2 separate regions of the Homo sapiens genome follow, and region 2 is linked to region 1. Evidence: promoter capture Hi-C in 16 types of primary human blood cells and fetal thymus (Javierre and others, 2016). All regions are on one chromosome and are shown on one strand. The core of a region is centred on a gene start or on the middle of the fragment in contact, and the rest is flanking DNA. Distances in the headings are between cores, read along the strand shown. Region 1 holds the start of EGF (epidermal growth factor). Region 2 overlaps ENPEP (glutamyl aminopeptidase).

What was found. The method cuts DNA at HindIII sites, captures the fragments that hold promoters and counts their contacts. A CHiCAGO score of 5 or more calls a contact.
Region 2: a contact is called between a fragment that was not itself captured here and the fragment with the promoter of EGF in region 1, in 1 of 17 cell types (total CD4 T cells). The highest score is 5.1, in total CD4 T cells.

What each region holds. Positions count from the first base shown.
Region 1 is chr4:109,911,605-109,916,822 of GRCh38, forward strand. It overlaps EGF (epidermal growth factor), which reads left to right and starts at 1,279. Exons shown (of 24, transcript NM_001963.6): 1 at 1,279-1,858. The coding sequence starts at 1,732. The HindIII fragment of the contact is 2,188 bases long and covers 1-2,128 here.
Region 2 is chr4:110,542,392-110,547,684 of GRCh38, forward strand. ENPEP (glutamyl aminopeptidase) reads left to right here. Exons shown (of 20, transcript NM_001977.4): 12 at 360-496; 13 at 624-679. Among named protein-coding and RNA genes, the nearest start is that of ENPEP, 69 kb to the left of the region's middle. The HindIII fragment of the contact is 2,937 bases long and covers 93-3,029 here.

The sequences.
Region 1 (5,218 bases), core at 29-2,528:
TATGAGTCTTGAGTCTGACTCAGTCCAGAAAGCAATGGAATATTCCGCATAACCACCTAAAGGACTTCTCTTTCCCCCTTCCCCAGGGTCTGTTTCTCCTGTAAGGGTTCAGAGCTGCCTGGCAGAGGCTGGCTGAAATAGGAGAAATCCTGACTTAAGCTGTTTCAGGAAAGTGATCCAGTCTTTGGAGAATAATCAGGACATAATTAAGTATGAGTAAAAGGCTTAGAGTTAGTCTGTTCTCCTCTGTAATGGGGTGTTCACTAGTGTGACAGTTGTTTTTGTGACTATTGCTTTTACGTACATTTTTGACCAGCACTTGGAACACTACCTCAGGGTAACTTAAATGAAAGTCCATTTTCCAGGATGGAGTAAACTGACAGAAATTTCCATCGTGCATCAAATCTGCTATAAGTTGTTTGCCTTCTGGGTATTTTTGGGCCCTAGTTGTACTCCTGAAGAAATAACCACTGTTGCTCCAAGTAGAAAGTGGTTGAGGAGACAGCTAACAGATACGTCCAGTTCTTATTTTCTATCACAGAGATGTGAAAAAAAAAAAGCCTAAATTATCTTAGAAGGAAAAGCATTCCTCTGTGCTGGATTTCCAGTGCTTCCCAGCTTTGCACTGTTAGCTTATTTTTTCCAATGTCCCTATAATAACAATCCACTCCTTTCTCTGCACTCCTGGCCCCTCGTGATGTTTTATCATGCTCATGCTGAAAGAAAAGGTGTCTGTCCATACTGTATCTCTTCATTTGGCCTCAGGGATTTCCCTTTGATTTGGAAAGAATAATCTTTCAAATTCCGCTATAAACTATACAGGAGAAAGAGAAAAATAAGATAAAGCTCCTGGAATGTGCACTGGTATTGACATTTCGTTCAAATAATGGGCTGAAGGTGAACTATCTTTACTATTGCTCATGTGAATGATCAATTATTATCAATCCAAACTATCAACAGTGCTGCTTATTATTGATTTATACTGCATGGTTTAATTTTGTCTCCATCCTTCCAGACATTAAAACATAGCCAATATTTAGCAGTTCCCGCCATTCACCATGAGCACCTCCACAGCCCCCAACTCCTCTCTCCCAGTTCTGCCCAGGATATTTATGGTGAGTAGCGAGTTATCTCCTCTTTGGCAGTCATCCCTGCTTTCCTGTGTGGAGGAATTGCCCACATTCGCATTTGCAAACAGAGGCTCACTCAAGTGTCACTAAAGGAAAGGAGGTGGAGCCTGAAGAGCTTTAAAAAGCAAAGCTGAGTCATTCCACTTTTCAAAAAGAGAAACTGTTGGGAGAGGAATCGTATCTCCATATTTCTTCTTTCAGCCCCAATCCAAGGGTTGTAGCTGGAACTTTCCATCAGTTCTTCCTTTCTTTTTCCTCTCTAAGCCTTTGCCTTGCTCTGTCACAGTGAAGTCAGCCAGAGCAGGGCTGTTAAACTCTGTGAAATTTGTCATAAGGGTGTCAGGTATTTCTTACTGGCTTCCAAAGAAACATAGATAAAGAAATCTTTCCTGTGGCTTCCCTTGGCAGGCTGCATTCAGAAGGTCTCTCAGTTGAAGAAAGAGCTTGGAGGACAACAGCACAACAGGAGAGTAAAAGATGCCCCAGGGCTGAGGCCTCCGCTCAGGCAGCCGCATCTGGGGTCAATCATACTCACCTTGCCCGGGCCATGCTCCAGCAAAATCAAGCTGTTTTCTTTTGAAAGTTCAAACTCATCAAGATTATGCTGCTCACTCTTATCATTCTGTTGCCAGTAGTTTCAAAATTTAGTTTTGTTAGTCTCTCAGCACCGCAGCACTGGAGCTGTCCTGAAGGTACTCTCGCAGGAAATGGGAATTCTACTTGTGTGGGTAAGTACTCCAATGAAAAGGTGCTCCAGGTCTCCGGGAAACTGCCCCCACATCCCTGTTGGTTCAATCTGGTATACTTGGGCATTTAACAAAGTTTGTCTTTGGGTATGTATAGTTGCTTAATTTTTGTTTTCTGATGCATGTTTATTTTCTTACTGGCCATTAGAGCTAATCTGCTACCAACTATAAAACTTCATAACTCTCAAACTGTACTTCTGTGTATAAGTGAATGAATATGCCTCATTTTAAACTAGCAGAACATTTCATGGAAGCTTCAGCTTTTACTCTGACAAGAGGAGTAATTAACACCTGGCTAATTGCTTGGAAATTAGGGAAACAGATGGTTGATTTTTTGTTTGTCTGTTTGAAACTCTTAAGCCACAAAGAAAAAAATCCTTCCTTCTGATAACTTGTAAGAATTCAGAAGTTCTAAAAATTAGTGAAAAATGGAAAGGGAACTGTGAACAAAGGTAGTTGTGAAAATTAACCTAAATTTCAATTTCAACCTCCTTCACTTTCTCCCCACTCTTACTGTTTCTGAGGCTCTGACACAACTCCGGAGTTTTAGTAACAGGTGCATTGCAACTTTAAGAACTGCCAAATATGATAATGGGTAAATAAGCCACACTGTCCTCTCATATTAAATGAATTTTTTGCCAAGGGGAAATGGGAGCTTGACTGAATGCGAATTACAATCCTGCCAAAGGATATTGCCTGAAAAACATTCTCTCTCTAACTGTTAATTCATTTATTTAATCCTTGGGTGAGCCTCCAACCTGCTGCTTAGACACGGCAGCCGCCTTTGTTGATGAGAGGTTATAGCTGCCCCGACATTCCATTTTTATCAGCTTGCCCTTTTGAGATGGCGTCTGGCTTTTAAAAAGAGGTAGATTGAGGGGGAAAACACAGTACAGTTTCCAGAAGAGACACCTATGGAAGACAGTACACAATAGGCAATAGTTTGAATAAAGAGAGCAGAATGGAGCCAAACTGCCAAAGCTAGGCTGCTGTCCTGGCTCTCCCATTAAGGAAGTTCCCGATGAGGAAATCAGGTGCTTTTGCTCAGAATCTCTGGACTCTGTTCTCAGGTAGCACTCCTTGTAACAGGTGAGCAGAACTCTAGGGTATTTGAAATAAAGACTTAATCCTAGTGATCTCTATGTTCCCAGCACCTAGGACATTCCTGCTTCCACAGTGTGTACTCAGCAAATTCTTGTGTATGAATGAGGCGTCTTTCTCTGATCTGCTAATGACATAGTCCTAGAGAACAGCAACAAAAAGAGGGTGACAAATGACAAAAATGGCCCCATGAACCTCAGACTCAGCTGTTGGAGACAGAAGTAAAACTTCTGTATACAGTTATGTCAAATGGACTGGACTCTCTTTGGGGTGGGAGAATTTTCCGTGGAGTAGTTGGCAAATATCTAGAGTTGGGCACTGTCATTTGCATGGGATGTGAGGGGTGATGGTTGGGCCGATCTATCAGGCAGCCAGAAGCTAGGAAAGAAGAACCCAGGTTGCTGAAGCAGAACCCAAGAAATTACAAAAATGAGCTTTTATGGATGGCTCTAGGATCTCAGAATAGTCTGATTCCTGCTGGCAAGCAAGTCTATGCCTTGTTTTCCTTGCCACCTCTGGTGGCTCAGAAGTGCCTTCATTGAGGTAGGTTGTACCCAATAAACATGAAACCCAGGATAGAAACAATAAGTTGGGGAGACTGTGTCACAGAGTGGAAGGAACCACAGGTTTTAGAAACAAACAAGCCTCATTTCATATCCATGCTACCAACTTAATAGCTGAGTTACTTTAGAGTATCTCTGGGAAATAATACCCTCGCCCACTGCTTTTAGGATTTTTTTGTGGGGAATCACATGAGATAACCTAGCATGTACCAAAGCATGGTGCTTAGCAGAGTATGCTCAATAAATGTCCTCCTGGGCTCCACGTCTTGGCTAAATCTCTGATCAAGTCATACGATGAGATGCCGTATTTGAACAGTGCAGTGACACGGCACAGATCCATGGAGTGTGGAATGTGTGGATGGCACTTTGGGATTCCCTGCCTCTCTGCTACCTCATTTCTTGCAAGTCACTGGTTTAAATCCCGTACTTTACGCTCCTGGTCTCATGTTAGCTGATAACTGCCTGGGTCACCCTTTGTCAGTCACTGTGTGCATTTCAGAGGATAGTATTTCTTTCTCCTCTCTAAATAGATATGGTGCCATCATCTATTTTTCCCTCATTTAAATTCTACTTGCCTTATTTCTTGCCCTTGGCATTGAGACAGATCACCTCTGCAGCCACCTGACCCAGCAGGAAGAATGCTTTATGGTCTAACAGTATTCAGGTAAACTTATGCAAGATTGTTACTCATGTGACTGCTAGCCGGATAAACCAAGTGATAGCAACACAATTAGGTTTCTTTCTATTCCCCTCCCTCTCCCTCCTTTTAACTGAGTATTCTGTTAGCGTCTACTTGAGCTACAGCAGGTGAGGACAGCAGGAAAGAAAACTGCTGGCAAGTGGTTTCTGAACCTTCAAGTCTATTTACCCTGGAGGACAAATAACAGTTGAAAAAGAAATTGTTCCTGTTTGGCTTCTGTACCTGCATTATTTATATGAACTTTTTTGGTAATAAAGGGTAAGGAAGAAGTACAGCCTCCCAGCTGCGGGAGGGATCCTGGGGTGGCACTAAGTTATCACTTTTAGTAGTAAACAGTGAAATCAGTGATTTCAGTACCGGCTAAGGCGTGGTCAGCATCCCAGTCATGTGCAAACCAGAGTAATTCTGAGACCAGAAGCTTGTCTGTTTTTTCAGCCAGGGTTATGCGATTTTTTTTCTTTTTTTCTAACAGCAGTGAAACTAACCTCCAAATATTCAGTGGTGTTTGGTCATTGAGCTTAGTGGTAAAGAAGCATAAATTTTGGAGACAGATTTCTTGCCTGGATTCAAATCCCATTTCTGCTGCTTGTGAACTGTTTGTCTCATTTTCCTTACCCTAAAATGAAGATAATTGTACCCTCTTCCGAGGACTCTTGTCAGTATTGCGTTAATGTATTCATTTTCAGTGCTGGCTGTGCATTAGAATCACTAATGTCTGGGTGGCCACCCCGGGCAGTCTGGATCAGAGTCTCTTCTGGGAGTGGAATCTAGGCCTTATTTTTTTTTAATGTGGTGATTCTAACCAACAGCCTGGGTTAGAACCACTGAGTTAATATATGTAAAGTGCACAAAACAGAGCTTGGCATACAATAAACACTCGATAAGCCCGAGATTCTATTAATGTTTTGTTGTTTTAAAAATTATTTTTATGAATGTAATGGTATTTTCTAAATGTGGCTTGGTTTCGCCTATAATCAT
Region 2 (5,293 bases), core at 311-2,810, 630 kb after region 1:
CTACCCCTGAAGGCATGGACTTCTCTGTCTCGAGGCACTGTTTTCTTTTATTGATGGATTGACCAGCACGAAATTATTTCGCCCATTTGACAAGCTTCTGCCAGTAAAAACTATCCATCATAAATTACAGTATAATTATTTATATTACTTATTTCTTTTTTAGCTCACTCATTATAGTGGTATTCTAAAGTTAGACAACTAAGTAAAAATTAGGCTTTGGGTTTTGGATCCAAATCAAACCTGCCTCCTTGAGCTAATATTTCTTTTCTTTTATTTTCTTTTTGCCCTCTGGGTCTAATTTCTCTGTGTTGACAGTGCATGCAAACATGTTGCTCATTAGTGTTTATTTACTACTACAGGAATCACTTTGAACTCCTCTAATCCTAGTGGAAATGCTTTTCTCAAAATAAACCCAGATCATATTGGGTTTTATCGTGTAAATTATGAAGTAGCAACTTGGGACTCGATAGCTACAGCGCTCTCCTTGAACCACAAGGTAAGAGATAGCAATGGTTGGAAACTTTTATTTTTGTTCTAAGAACAGCATCTTAATGATATTAATTTTTTTCAACATGCTTTGCCTTAAGAATTGTGTTTTTATCTCTCTTTCTCCCTCTTCCCAGACATTTTCTTCAGCAGATCGTGCAAGTCTTATTGATGATGCTTTTGCCTTGGCAAGGTGCGTTTTAGAATGAGACTAAATTACTTAAAATACTGTGGGTTTTCTCATAAATCTTTTAAAAATGAATTAAACATTGCAGTATTAATCAATTTTAGCTTAAAATATCCAAAGCCACTATTTAAAACATTATTGTTTTCCTTAACTCTCTTTTCAAAAGTTCACATGAGCCTAATAGTCAAAATACTGACATTAGCCCTTAAGGTATACACAAAAACAAACCTAACTTATTGACTTTGAGTATGGTTTGTCTATATCAGGATCCTTGAGCTAATTAGAAGTGACATTTGCAAATGATCAAAAATGTACCTTCATAATTTGATTTAATATAAAGACAAACAATGTATTTTATTAATTCAGTTCTGTGAGCCCGAGCCCAGTGTAAGATTTTATGGCTAGAATTGTCAAATCTTGTTCAGGTCACTGGGGTAAGAAGAATGAGCTATGGTGCTTTAGAACTGATCAGAATTAGGGGACCATTTGGAAAATTTGACTCTTTTTCTCATAGTCTGAAGGTAACCTGCTCTTTAGAAAAAGTGTAGATTGGAAGAACTAAGTAGTATCCATGGTACCTCTATTTTTTTTTTAATTCACATAGTCTAACACCAGTAATTTAACAAGCATTTATTGAGTTCCTGGCACTTTGCAGAAGCTGAGGACACAGCCAATTTTATTTCTCTGGCTTTGTAGTCGCCTCATTCTAGATATGAGCAATGTGCTAAGAATGAGGAGCCACTTCCCTCAGTAGCCTCCCATGGCCTCTTTCTCTGGGTTGGGTATCCTTCTTATGGGACCCTATATTTCCTCATAATATTTTATTGTTATTGTTTATTAATTGTGCATTTCACCCATCAAACTGAAGGTTCATGAGGGTAGGCACCCAAACCCAGCTCCTGACTGTACGTTGCCAATAACAGTTGATAATAAATACTGACTAAATAGAGAGGTGGAAGAATAGTATAGTAGTACTAAAGGCATGGGGAAACTATTTTACACAGAGTTCCTAGATAGTATATTAAAAGTCAGAAAACCTTGACATATTTCAAGGAAGGAATTATGGGGTTCGAAAACAGGCTCTTGAACCCCATTAAAATCCTGGTTCCATATAGTCTTAAGTAAGTCTCTTAACTTCTCTCTGGCTCAATTTTCTTATCACCAAGGTAGAGATGACCTTATAAGACTTCTGTGAGGAATAAATGAGATAATGGACATAAAACACTTAAAAGATTATCTGGCATGTAGAAACTCAATACATTGTATTACATGACCAAAATGCATCCACCGTTAATTAGTAGTGAAGATGCGTTTAGAAGAGCTCTTCTGAATTTGTAATCTACACTCGTTTTGTAGCTAATAGAAAATATGATGTTCTAGTGAATCTCCAAGTTTAACCTCCTGGATATGTAATAGATTATTTTCACTATATTACAGTATACCACTCACTCATTTAATAAATAAACATTGGCGACTTACTATGTGCCAGGCACTGTGTAGAATAGAATCTGGGAAATTAAATGATGAAATAAGATGATCAATAAGTATTTTTAAACAGAATCATTTAGTTTTTATTTTTAAATTGTCCTGTTCCAAAGCTCAGCTTCTTCACTGTTAGAAATTACAAAGAACTGTACTATCTCTACAGTTTAATTTGCACCACAATGTAGGAGGTCCTTTCTATTCCAAGATGAAGTGAAAGAAAGCCTCTTGAACAGCTCTCTCTGAGGAACTGAGTATAAAGCAAATAACTTACACTACTGAAAGACTTGCTCACATTTGCTCAGCTCCTTGGCCACAGCCCCATAAAATTGTGAAGAGCTGTGGAGAGGAAGAAAATGAAACAAATTTGAAATTCAAAACATATGTAGGATCACACAAGAGAGCTAGAAAATACCTGTGCTATCACCTGGCTCAATGAGGTTCTGCAGCACATGAGGAAAATGGGACTCGGAGAGAAACAGATTCAACGAGCATTGGTTAGAGCCAAGAGGGCAGCTTCAAAGACCACATAAGCTAAGACCATTATGAAACTTTGGTGGAGGGGGTGGAAGAGAGAAGAAATGCGTAGTTAAATAGGTGAGCAACTGTGGCAGGATTAGAATTTAAACAAGTCTACTGAGGTATTCAAAGGAATGTAGTAACCATTATATTTAATAATCAGAACTAAATGATACATCTGAAAATAAATGAATTTTTTATTCCCCTGTCTCTTCCAACTTGATGTGAAGAGGTAGTACTCCTACTGCCCTGGCTGGGCATATGACTCTTTTCAAGGTAAGAAATTTACCCATCACCACTAGTTCATCCAAACCCTCTCAATTCCATAATTTTCTCAGTCAAGTAAAATCATCAAAGCTTTCTACTTCATTTAAAGCTTCTCCCTGCCCCCAGCTTAGGCCAGGTTCAGGCCAGTCACCTGCAATGGGAATGGGGTGATTGATTTCCTCTTCGTTTCTCTGCTTGGAACTTCTATGTCTCCCGAGTCACCGTGCTGCCTCTGGTTTCTCCAAAGTTAAGGCAAAGAGAACAGGGTGGGAGAGTAGGTGAGAGGGAGAAAAATCCTGATGTGCTGCCTACTTTTGGTCCTCTCTGAACTTTGTTGATGTTTAATGCTGATTTTTTTCCTTGTGTTGTGTTTTTATGGGATTTTTGTTACCCATATCCATTCCATTGAGAAGGATCTTTCTCCTGCAGTTTCCTTGAGGTGGGCAGGTGGACACTTCTGACCCACTTCTGGTCCATAGGAGGTTGTCATGTATGCTTTGTCCTGACAATATTTGGAAGAACAGGCCACCCCATGCAGTCCCATCTCTTCACTCTGAGGCCAGAGCAGCAGCCAAATAGCCTCTCATCTTTTAGATTTCTCAGGGTGTCAGACACCAAGCCACGGTGCCTCCAAGTTCCAGGAGACACAGGTAAACCTCTTCAAGTGGTCCCACTGAAACCTCTCTCCTGAGTCTTAATTAGACAGAAAAACATCTGGTGCCCTAGCCCTTGGAGGGGAGAGCATTTACAGTGTACTCAGTATACTGACAGCACTCTTTGAAAGGCCTCCACTAAAATGTCTCACCTTAGTTTCTCCAACCTCTTTTATAGGCTGGTGGTGGGCTATCAGCAAAGAGCCACACAGTCTTGTTCTTGACCATGTTAGTCCTGCTTTGGGGTCCTGCGTCTTTCTTTGGAGCATTGGAGCATAGGACTTAGTCTTGGGGCCTTGCCAAAACAGACACAGAAATAATTCTTCCCCCCACCCCGCCCCCTGCTTGCTACAATAGTTTTTGTTGTTTTTTGTTTTCTGTTTGCAATTACTTTATATTGTCCTCTTCAGCCCACTTCTTGCTACAGCCAGGAGAGGGTGGGTAATAACATAAGGGAAAGCAGAGTATGCTGGCTGACAAGGCTGCGTGGGGGCAGGAGTCACTAGGTAAGGGACGAATGGCAAAGAGAACAGCTGAAAGGACCACCTAAGCTAATGATCTAAGCAGAATTTCAGCCAGGTTTCAAGGACCACTGGCTCCAAGGATATGCAAGGTAATGGCCACGTTAGCAAATAAGAACCAGCAGGTGAACATCAGTCAAGCCAAAATCATGGACCTTAGATACAAACATTTTTGTAAGTGTTTGCAGAGATGACCAGAGAACAACACAGAACTCTATAAGCAACTTTTCCCATCCTCTCATGGACTTCCCTTAAAGGAAGTGAGAAGATGGGGAATGGGAAAAGAATCCAAAGGTGATTTAGTTAATTGCAAAATGACTGTTTTAAGCCAGAAACCTGAATTTAATTGGCAAGTTCAGTTGAGTGACTAGACAGCTGGGAACTTTATGCCCTTCACACCACCTGAAAAACTAGCCAAAGAACCCAAGCACATGGGGTCAGTTTTACTCCCCCAGGTACCTCTCAACAATTTTTATTGTCCCTTTAGGGAGCCATGTTTGACAAGACACTATACTTAACTACTTAACTCAGGCTTCTCTAAGCAGGACTGTGCAGTCTTTCCAAATTACACTCAGGAAAACAAAAAACAAACCTTCTGCTGTAAGAGTCCCCCAACCTTCCTAGGTGCCTTAGCTCAATATAGAAGAGCAAGAATGCTCTCATATGACCTTTGTCCTCTTCTTCATTTTATTTGGTGGAAATTTTAAGCTATAGCTTCCAACCTCTCTACACTATAGAATATAGTAAACTTCTATAATTTAAGTCCCCCAGGCTGGGCTCTCACTATATAAACAGAATATTTTTGAACAAAGAAAATTCTCAATCAAGTCTGGCCTTCAGAATTGCTGTTTGTCTATGGACTTAAATGGAGTTTGAGACCCAAAGTTGAGTAAGAATGCTAGCAGTCTTGAGTTGAGTTCCCTAGACGTAGAGTCAGAAATAGAGGTTCTTGTACTAGTGGTTTCTTGAGAGAGTAATTTCATGAGACAGGGAATACAAAAAACAGGACAGGGAAGTGGGGAAAGCTGAGCTGATTTCAAAAGGTTCTAAAATTCTTTTGAAAGGGGAAGAAAGTGGATTCTTTAACCTTTAAAATATCAACAGTGTCTTCAAATTTTCTAGAAGAGAAAAATTTACTTTTTTAATGAATATTACTGGGAAATGTATAAGAAGATGTT